Linked DNA regions of Homo sapiens: region 2 is linked to region 1. Evidence: promoter capture Hi-C in 16 types of primary human blood cells and fetal thymus (Javierre and others, 2016). All regions are on one chromosome and are shown on one strand. Each heading gives the region's core, a stretch centred on a gene start or on the middle of the fragment in contact. The rest is flanking DNA. Distances are from core to core; before and after follow the strand shown. Region 1 holds the start of PTPRS (protein tyrosine phosphatase receptor type S). Region 2 overlaps KDM4B (lysine demethylase 4B).

Region 1 (4,526 bases), core at 864-3,363:
CACAAAGGAAGGGACCCTGGGAGGGGGAGGGGACTTATGCAAATGGCAGATTCGACCAAGTCCCTGGGCCATTAATAAACGCTCCAGCAGCTGCCGCTGGTATCGCAGGAGCAGAGGAGCGGGATGGCTTCCTTCTCCCGGGCGAAAGGCGGCAGAAAGAGGGAAGAAGGGCGCCCCAGACAAAGAGGCGCCGTCACCCTCTGCACCCCAAGGACAGCAGCGATAGGGGGCCACCCAGAGGAGGCCAGAATCCCAGCAGCCAAAGTCCGGGTGGTGGCGGACGGGAGCCCGGAGCGTGTGGGTCCCTGTCCTTGGGACCCTAGGGGTCTCTTCCTGCCTCCTCCGGCTTCTAGGTATCATCCCTGCTGCTCAGCCGGGACTCCGACACCTCGGACACCCGCTTCACTAGCCGCGGCTGCCGGGATGTGTTTTTAGGGTCTCGGCCAGAGGCAGGAGGACCCCATGCTCAGAAGGGGGCTCCCCTAGATTGTGACGGGGGGGGACAGGGGAATCCCAGCTGAGCCCAGAAGGGGGAGGCAAGGCACCCCCAATGAGGCTCTGGGAGGTTTGTTAATTTGGGGGAATGAGGTCCCAGGAGGTGGCTGGATTTGAGGAAGGGTTGCAGAGGAAGGGGCGTTCTTGGAAGCTGCATATTTAGGGAGACGAGAAGACGATTTGAGACTGGGGAAAGAGGGTCAACCGAAGAAGGAGGTCCCAGATTTGGGGCGGGGGGTGTGGCTGAAAAAAAGATTCCCAGTTTGTGGGAAAGGTTCCCTGATTTGAGGATTCTGGAGAGAAAGCGGCCGAAGGGGAGTTCCCCAATTTGGGAAGGGGGGGAATTGGTGGGAAATGTCCAGGATTTGTAGGGGGAGGTCCGAAGGGGAGGATCTTAATTTTAGGAGAGATTCCCATAAAGAGAGGTGAACTTGGCCGCAACCTGGCCGAACCCTCGCACCCACGGCGCGGGCACTCTAACCTGGGGGGCTCCCCTCAGGGCACGCCCCGCGCCCCCTTTAACCCAGTGCCGACGGCCCCGCCCCCGGTATGACGTCACCTCCCCTCCCCCCGCAGCCCCCGGGGGCTCCCGGGGCGTGCGGAACCCGCGGGGCTGGCGGTTCCAGGGGCGGCTTCCCCACTCTCGGGATCCCCACGGGGCCCCCAGCGCGGAGGGGAGACTGGGGTGCTGGGCGTGCGCGTCTGCCTGCCAGAGCCCCTGGGGCTGGGGGCTGAGGCTCGCCCCTGGGTGGGGAGGCTGGAAGGGGGCGCCGAGGCCGCAGAAGGGTGGGGCAATGCCCGAGTGCCGGAGGGGCGACCTCCCATAAGGCAACGACAGGGCCCGGAGTGTTCCAGGGGAGACGGCGTAGACTAGGGGGTCTCCAGGGGAGGGAGACCCGGAGAGGGAAGGCGGCGGGCGCAGCAGCCCTGGAGCCACCCCGCCTGGAGCCACCCGTCCCGGCTCCTCTCCGCTCCGGGGCGCCCGCATGCCCCCCATCCCCCGGCACAGCGCCCCCTGCCTCCAGGACCCGCCCGGGGACCCGGGCCGGGCGCCGCCGGGGCCGGCACCGGCTCCGCACACACGCGCGCCCCCCTCCGCGCCTCTGCCCCGCCCGCAGCCCGGGGTGGTGCAGCCGGCGGCGCTGGGCAGCTTCCAATGCCGCGCTCTGGGCGCTTCCAGCCCAGCCCCCTCCCACGCCGCGGACGAAGCCCCCCCAGCACCCCCTGCCGAGCGCCCCCAGCGCGGCCCCGGCCCTGTCCCTCGGGGCATTGTCCGGGCGCAGCTACCGGGGCGCAGCGGCTGGGCGTGCAACTGGCTGCAGCCGAGCATCCTCCGAGCACAATGGCCGTGCAGGCTTCCCCGGCACAAAGCCGGCGCGCTGCCCACTCGGCTGCCTCCGAGACCCCCCTTGGAGCGCCTGCATTTTTTTTTCCTCTAATCCATGATTTTATTTTTTTTTTTGGCTTTACCTGGAGGCTGGCTGGGCTGGGCTCCCCCGGCTCTGCCCCGCTTCACATCGTGGCTGTTGCATGGGATCCGAGCGGAGCCCGAGCGCCAGCGGCTCGCGGCGTGCGCGCGCCGGCCGGGCTGCCGGGCGGGCGGCGCGAGGACACTCACTGCGGCTCGCGCTCCCCTAGCTCCCGCTCGCGCGCCCCCCCAGCCGGTGACGTCATCCCTTCCGCCAGCGCCGCCGCCGCCGCCGCCGGGTCGGGGGCAGGGCCGGCCCGTGCGCGTCACTGCGCAGCCGCGCGGCCGCCACGCCCCCCGGCCAATGGGACGGCGCAGCGCGGTCACGTGGCTCCGGGGTGTTTAAAGGGCCGCGGGAGCACGTGGGGCGCGGGGCTTCGCGGGACACGTGGGCGGCTGGGGTGGTGGTGGTGGTGGCGGCTGCGGCGGCGGCGGGAAGGGCCCCTGGGGCTACTGTCCGTGCGGGAGCCCCAGCGTCCTGGGTGCAAAGGGCATGGCACTTTCTGTGCGCTGCCCTAAACTGTGCCACGGCTCCCCAGTACCCTTGGAATAAAATCCCGCCTCCTCTCTGCAGCTCGCCGTTTCACATTAGCGCCCACTACCCTGTCCCCTCCCCCCCACCATGTCAATGATCCAGAAAAACCAGCTGCTCCTTCTTTGCTTTTTCAGAGATGGGGTCTGCCACCTGGGCCTCAGTACAGTGGTATGATCATAGCTCACTGCAGCTTCAAACTCCTGGGCTCAGGTGATCCTCCCGCCTCAGCCTCCTGAGTAGTTGGGCTCGGGTGATCCTCCCGCCTCAGCCAGCTTCTTACAGTTCCTCTAACTTGAGCATCCAAGAACTTCCCCTTCTCATCTTTCCAATTTCTGCTCAAATAAGCAGCGCCTGGGAGAAGCCCTCCCTGACAACAGCTACCAGCCACGCCCCACTCCACTCTATCCCATTATCCCGGTTTGTTGTTGTTGTTGTTGTTTGTTTGGTTTTGAGTCGGAGTCTCACTCTGTCGCCCAGGCTGGAATGCAGTGGCGTGATCGCGGCTCACTGTAACCTCCGCCTCCTGGATTCAAGCTATTCTCCTGTCTCAGCCTCCGGAGTAGCTGGAATTACAGGCGTGCTGTCACCACGCCTGGCTAATTTTTGTATTTTTGTTAGAGACAGTGTTTCACCATGTTGGCCAGGCTGGTCTTGAACTCCTGACCTCAGTGATCCGTCCACCTCGGCCTCCCAAAGTGCTGGGATTACAGGCGTGAGCCACCGCGCCTGGTCCCATTATCCCGTTTTTATTCTAGTTACACTACAGTGTGGCTCCAGAGATCCCTATTGTAGGTTGAACACATGAATGAATGGATGATGGAGCACTTCTTATAGAGTAAGCACTTTACACAGGTCTCACCTAATTACCATCCCCTGCTTCCCTGGAGTCAGGACGAGCCACAGTTGGAACCCAGCTAAAACACTGATTTGCTGTGTGAGGCCCGGAGCCTCACTTTCCCCATCTGTAGAATGGATTTGCCTCTGGATCTCAGCTCTCATCTGTAAAATGGGGCAAGGTAGCCCCTGCTCCTAAGGAGGGTGTGATGATGAATTGCTATAATGTGGCAGCCTGGCTGCCATTGGTGCCTGAAGATGGAATAATAAGAGAAAAGAGGCCGGGCCCGGTGACTCATGCCTGTAATCCCAGCACTTTGGGAAGCCAAGGTGGGCAGATCACTTGTCAGGAGTTCGAGACCAGGCTGGCCGACATGGCGAAACCCCATCTCTACTAAAAATACAAAAATTAGCCGAGCGTGGTGGCAGGTGCCTGTAGTCTCAGCTAGTTGGGAGGCTGAGGCAGGAGAAACTCTTGAACCCGGGAGGCGGAGGTTGCAGTGAACCAATATCACACCACTGCACACTCTAGCCTGGGCGACAGAGTGAGACTCTCAAAAATAAGGAAAAAAAACAGAGCGGAAGTAAATAAAAGGGGGATATTGACAAAGGTAAGGGGGTTGGAGGGCTCACAGCCACCAAGCAAGATTGCACATCAGTCCTTGTGTTTTGATCATGTCGAAAGCATTTATTTCCTCAAGGCACATATTTGGAGAAGGCCTGGTGCCCAACAGAGGAACTCAACTTTAGAATTGGTTTTTTTTTTCCTCCAAAATTGTTGATTCATTCATTCCAGGCCACAGATGCAGATAAACAAAAAGCATTAACCCGGGGAACAAAACGATAAGGCGGAAGTCATAAACAGGAGAAAAGAGAGGAGATAATGAATAATTTAACAAGGAACCTAATTTAAGCTTGGAGTTTCCCAGCGGCCAGTGCAGCAGCCACGTTTGCAGAGCCTACTTTGTTTTTCTTCCTGGTGGGGTGACCCTGATCTGACCGTTTACAATCTGGCCTCAGTTTTCTCATCCAAGCAATGGGAACACGATCCCATCTTGAAGGATCAAATGGGGTGGTCTGTGCACAAATGCTTAGCGTGGTTTCTCACGCACAGTGGGTGCTGAAGCCTTGGAGAATTGGTGGAGACACAGTAAAATGAGATGGCTGATCGTGGAGGGGCTGATCATGGCACGA
Region 2 (4,346 bases), core at 856-3,355, 260 kb before region 1:
TCTCTCATTGACCGAGCGACTGTGTGGGCTGTGGTCTGGTGGATTTTGTCTGGGGAGGTCGGAGGAGAAGTCTCTGCATAGCCGTGCCCTGTGAGGGACCCAAGTGTATGCCATGGGTGGGCACCTTGTCACACAAGTAACCCTGGTCCTTCCCCTGGTGAGGAGGCCCTTGGCTGCCCCTGCTGCTGGGCAGAGACGAGACCAGGCATCTGCTCACATGGTCACTGCGCAGAGGCCAGAGGGTGTCACCACTGTCTGCCACCTGCAGAGCTCACAGCAGGGCACTATGGGGCGGCTCCTGCGCATCTCCTTCCCCCCGACCTGCAGGCACTGGGGCCCTGAGAACCAAGGGCAGATCTGGGCCGTGCTCTGTGCTCCCACACGCCCGCTCTCCATGGGAGGAAAGAGCCAGCCTGCCCAGAGGGCAGCATCCTCGCTGACCCCGGCCGGCTGTGGCCCAGGAGACTGACGTCTGTCTTTTCGGCCCTAGGCTTCTTCCCCGGGAGCTCGCAGGGCTGCGACGCCTTCCTGCGGCATAAGATGACCCTCATCTCGCCCATCATCCTGAAGAAGTACGGGATCCCCTTCAGCCGGGTGCGTACGGGTGGGGCCTGCACGCCTGTGGGTGAAGTGGGTACCGGGTCCAAGCCCAGGTGGCCGCACATACCCCAGGAGATAAGCTGTTTAACCCTGGAGAAGTTTCTAGAACAGTGATTAGCATGCCAGAGGAGGGCCGCATGGCTCAGCAGTTAGCCTCCAGCTCTTCCACGGGGAAGCGAAGATGGCAGAGCTTGAATCTGGCGGGGTGTTAACCTCCCCTCCCAAACCAAACCAAAACTTCCTCCTGGGTGTGGCCATCAGAGGCCCCTCCGCAGGGGCTGCAGGGGTGGAAGGGCAGGGGCAGGCCCTGCTGACCTGGCAGGAAGCTGCCAAAGAAACAGAGGGCAGGGCCCCTCGTCCCGTGCAAGGTGGGAACCTGGTTCCTACCGCCCCAGGCCACACCCTAAGTCTCAGGCACCCCCACGGCCCATGTCACCCGGCCGTGGAGAGAACTGCCTGTTTAGAAGTGACATTTCGGGCTCTCCTGCACCGTGAAGACTGTGAACTCATTCAGTTCACTGCTTCAGGGGCTGCTGGTGGAGGCTGTGATGGAGGAGACCTGAGGCCGGGGGGTGGGGCCTCCCTACACCTGATTTGATGGACAGCTGGGGTTTGGTGTCCCAGGAGCAGAGCAGGCTGTGCTCAGGGTCCAGCTCAGCAACTGCACCCACTCGAGGCAGTTCCTTCCCCATGGAGAAGCCTTTGTCCATGGGAGAGTCTAGGCCTGTGTCCCCAGCTCTGTCCAGGTGAGAGGCACGTGCCAAGAACCTGCAAGGCAGGTCTGGGCCGCAGCCCAGCTCATGAGGTTCCACGGGAAGAGTGATGTGCAGGCTCGGGAGCGTGCTCTGTGGTGAGGCCCTGAGTGTCAGCCAGCCGGAAATTGCTTGTGACATTTCAATCAAACCGCCAAAGCATCAGCTCACACATCGGGGATCCGCTCTTCCTGGCGGGGCTGCAACCCAGAGGCCGCCTCCCAGCCGCTGCAGGCATTCATCAGACAGCACAGATCTCGCTCGGAGAAGTGCGCATTTCCGGCCTTTCCTCTTCTCCCCCGTCTTCTGGTTGGAACATCATTCAGTACCAGCAAAACCAGACAGATCACGGCATTGCTCAGGGAAGTGAGAAGTACTGATTTTCTGGCTGGTTTGTCTAAAACCTTCTCCAAAGTGGTGCTTCCTGGAGGGGGGTGCCCATCGAAGGGGTGGGCAGGCAGTGAGTGGCCTGGACTCCCAGGTCAGCATCTGTATCGCACTGCAGTTTATCTGTAAAGTTCCTGAACCTGAGCCAAAGGTGGCTCACCACCAGCCTCAGAGCGGCTGCTGGCACCATGCATGGTAGCAGGCGGGGTCCAGGCAGTACGGCTGCGCTCCCCAACACCGCCAGCTGGTTGCTGGGGCCGGGCGCCAGTTTCTCCAGAGGCTGCCACAGTGAAGGCCCCTGTCCCACTGCAGCGAACAGCACCCTGTGCCGCCCGGCCTGGGGACCGTCCTTCAGCCTCTCAGACGCCATGGGCTTGAGATGAACGTCCCTTCCAGACAGCAGCGTGGGTCCCCTCATCTGAATTCCTGGCAGCCTTCAAACAAGTGACTCCCCACACTCCCCTTATAAATCTTTGTAATGGTATTTACTTCTAGGAGAAAAAGCCGATCAATAGCAGAGCTTTTTAATAATTAAAAGTGTGTACTTCTGTAATCTGCCATTGACTCCCTCATTTATTCTGCAAGAGCTCGCAGAGGAAACCGAGTTCCGGGCTTTCTCCGTGCCTGGTGTCTGGGGCCGCGTCCTGTCACCACTGATGACTTTGCCGCAAAGCCTATTCATCATCCCAACGCCTTCTAATTGATTGTTGGATAATGTTGACAGCAGTGACACAGGGGACAGACACCGTGAGTGTGGAACGAAGCCACCAGGATGCAGGTTTTCTCGCAGGAACATAATCTTCTTGTCCTAACCGAGCACATTTTCTCTTCTAGGCCTTGGTTCATAGGAGGGCTGGGGGAGTGAGGTCCTTACACTGTGAGAGCTTGGCTCTCTGCTGCCATCACCCCCATTCAATCTTGGCATTCCGGGGGCCCAGCTGGATCCCTGAAGGCTCTGAGTCTGATGTCTGCCTGACGCATGCCTGCAGGCCTGGTTCTCCAGGGGAGAGACAGGGAGCCGTCACTTGGCCTTAGAGCAGGTGGTCAGGGAAAAGCCTTTCCGAAGCCGGCTCAAATAGGATAAAGGAATCAGTAATGGCATTTACTTTACTTTCTTAACTTTTCTTTTTTTCTAGAGATGGGGTCTCACTCTGTTGTCCAGGCTGGTCTCAAGCTCCTGGGCATAAGTGTTTCTCTTGTCTTGGCCTCCCAAAATGCTGGGATTACAGGTGTGAGCACCATGCCCGGCCCAGTAATTAGGTTTTTTTTTAAAAAGCCCCAAACCTTAATTTTATTTGCCCCTCATTTCACGGAGCTCCCAGCGTAGTGGGGAGAAGCTGGCCCAGAGAACCCCACGTCCTGCACAGTGAGGGCCAGCCCTTGGGGACCCCATGTCCTGCACGGCGGGGGCCAGGCCCTGGGGCCACGTGTGTTCCCCCCCCACCCCTATTTTCTGCCGCGTGCTCGTTCTGCTGCACGTGGCTGTCACTTGAATGGGAATTTAAAAATATAACTTAATGCACACTGACTTCCCTTGATTGGTGCAATTAATTATTTGAAAAGAAAAATATCACAGTGTTCTTAAGGACTGGCATTTTTCCAAGCTGTGTCAGTTTTGATTGATGTCTGACGCCGTGGCTGGCTTCTGAAAGCCTCACCAGTTCTGATGGCTTATTGGCGACTTCAGTGTATCCAGCAATCTCTGCTCATCTTTCTGGGGGAATATATAATGATCAGCAGGCCTGAGAACTCCTACAAATCAGAGATAAGAAAACAAATGGCCCGATGAATTCGGCGTGAGGGGCTTGAGCAGACGCGTTACGAAGGAGCTGCAGGAACGAAAGCCATGGTTCAGTGCCCAGCATCGGTAGAAGTCAGAGGCAGCCAGCTGGGAGACACCGCCAGCCCCAGGACGGCCACGTCAGAACACCGCCACCAGATGCCAGTGAGGAGGGCGCAGCTGCACGCTGCTCCCAGCCGGGGTGGATGCAGGGCGGTGCCATGGCCATGGAAAACCGTTCGGCATTTTCTTGGAAACGGAAGCATGTACCCTGTGCCCCAGCGATGCCACTCTGTGCATATTTACTCAGGAGAAATGAAAACATATGTCTCCAGAAAGATTGGTACATAAGTGTTCTTAGCAGTTTTCTTCACGAGAGCCCCAAACTGGAAACAGCCCGCACGTCCATCAACAGGAGGATAGATAAATAAATAACCATAGATCCACGCGCAACCGAGTACTGTTTAGAAATGAAAAGGAGCGGTCGCCTGGTGCACAGGACAGTGGGAACAAATCTCAGAAACGCACGCCAGGTGGAAGACAACAGGCACGTGTCCCTGCCGTACAACGCCATTCATGTGAACCACTAGGAGGGAACGAGGTCTGTGGTGACTGAGAGCGCGTGCGTGGTTCGGTGGGGATGGCCTGGTAGAGGGCTGGTAGGAGGGGTGCCTGGGGGCCCGGCATGTTTTGTTCCTGTCTGGATCAGTGGTTACGCCCAGAACTCCGAGCAGCCTGTGATCCCTGCGTTTTACTGGATGTTAAATAAAGATGAGGAGCCCACTTGACTTCAAGGATTCTAGTTCATGAGCCTCAGTTTCCACGTC

The links. The method cuts DNA at HindIII sites, captures the fragments that hold promoters and counts their contacts. A CHiCAGO score of 5 or more calls a contact.
Region 2: a contact is called between a fragment that was not itself captured here and the fragment with the promoter of PTPRS in region 1, in 1 of 17 cell types (megakaryocytes). The highest score is 5.0, in megakaryocytes.

What each region holds. Positions count from the first base shown.
Region 1 is chr19:5,338,699-5,343,224 of GRCh38, forward strand. It overlaps PTPRS (protein tyrosine phosphatase receptor type S), which reads right to left and starts at 2,114. Exons shown (of 38, transcript NM_002850.4): 1 at 1,966-2,114. RefSeq lists an enhancer at 1-175 and a silencer at 2,042-2,321. The HindIII fragment of the contact is 5,182 bases long and covers 1-4,244 here.
Region 2 is chr19:5,076,877-5,081,222 of GRCh38, forward strand. KDM4B (lysine demethylase 4B) reads left to right here. Exons shown (of 23, transcript NM_015015.3): 8 at 491-594. Among named protein-coding and RNA genes, the nearest start is that of PTPRS-AS1, 99 kb to the right of the region's middle. The HindIII fragment of the contact is 7,055 bases long and covers 1-4,346 here.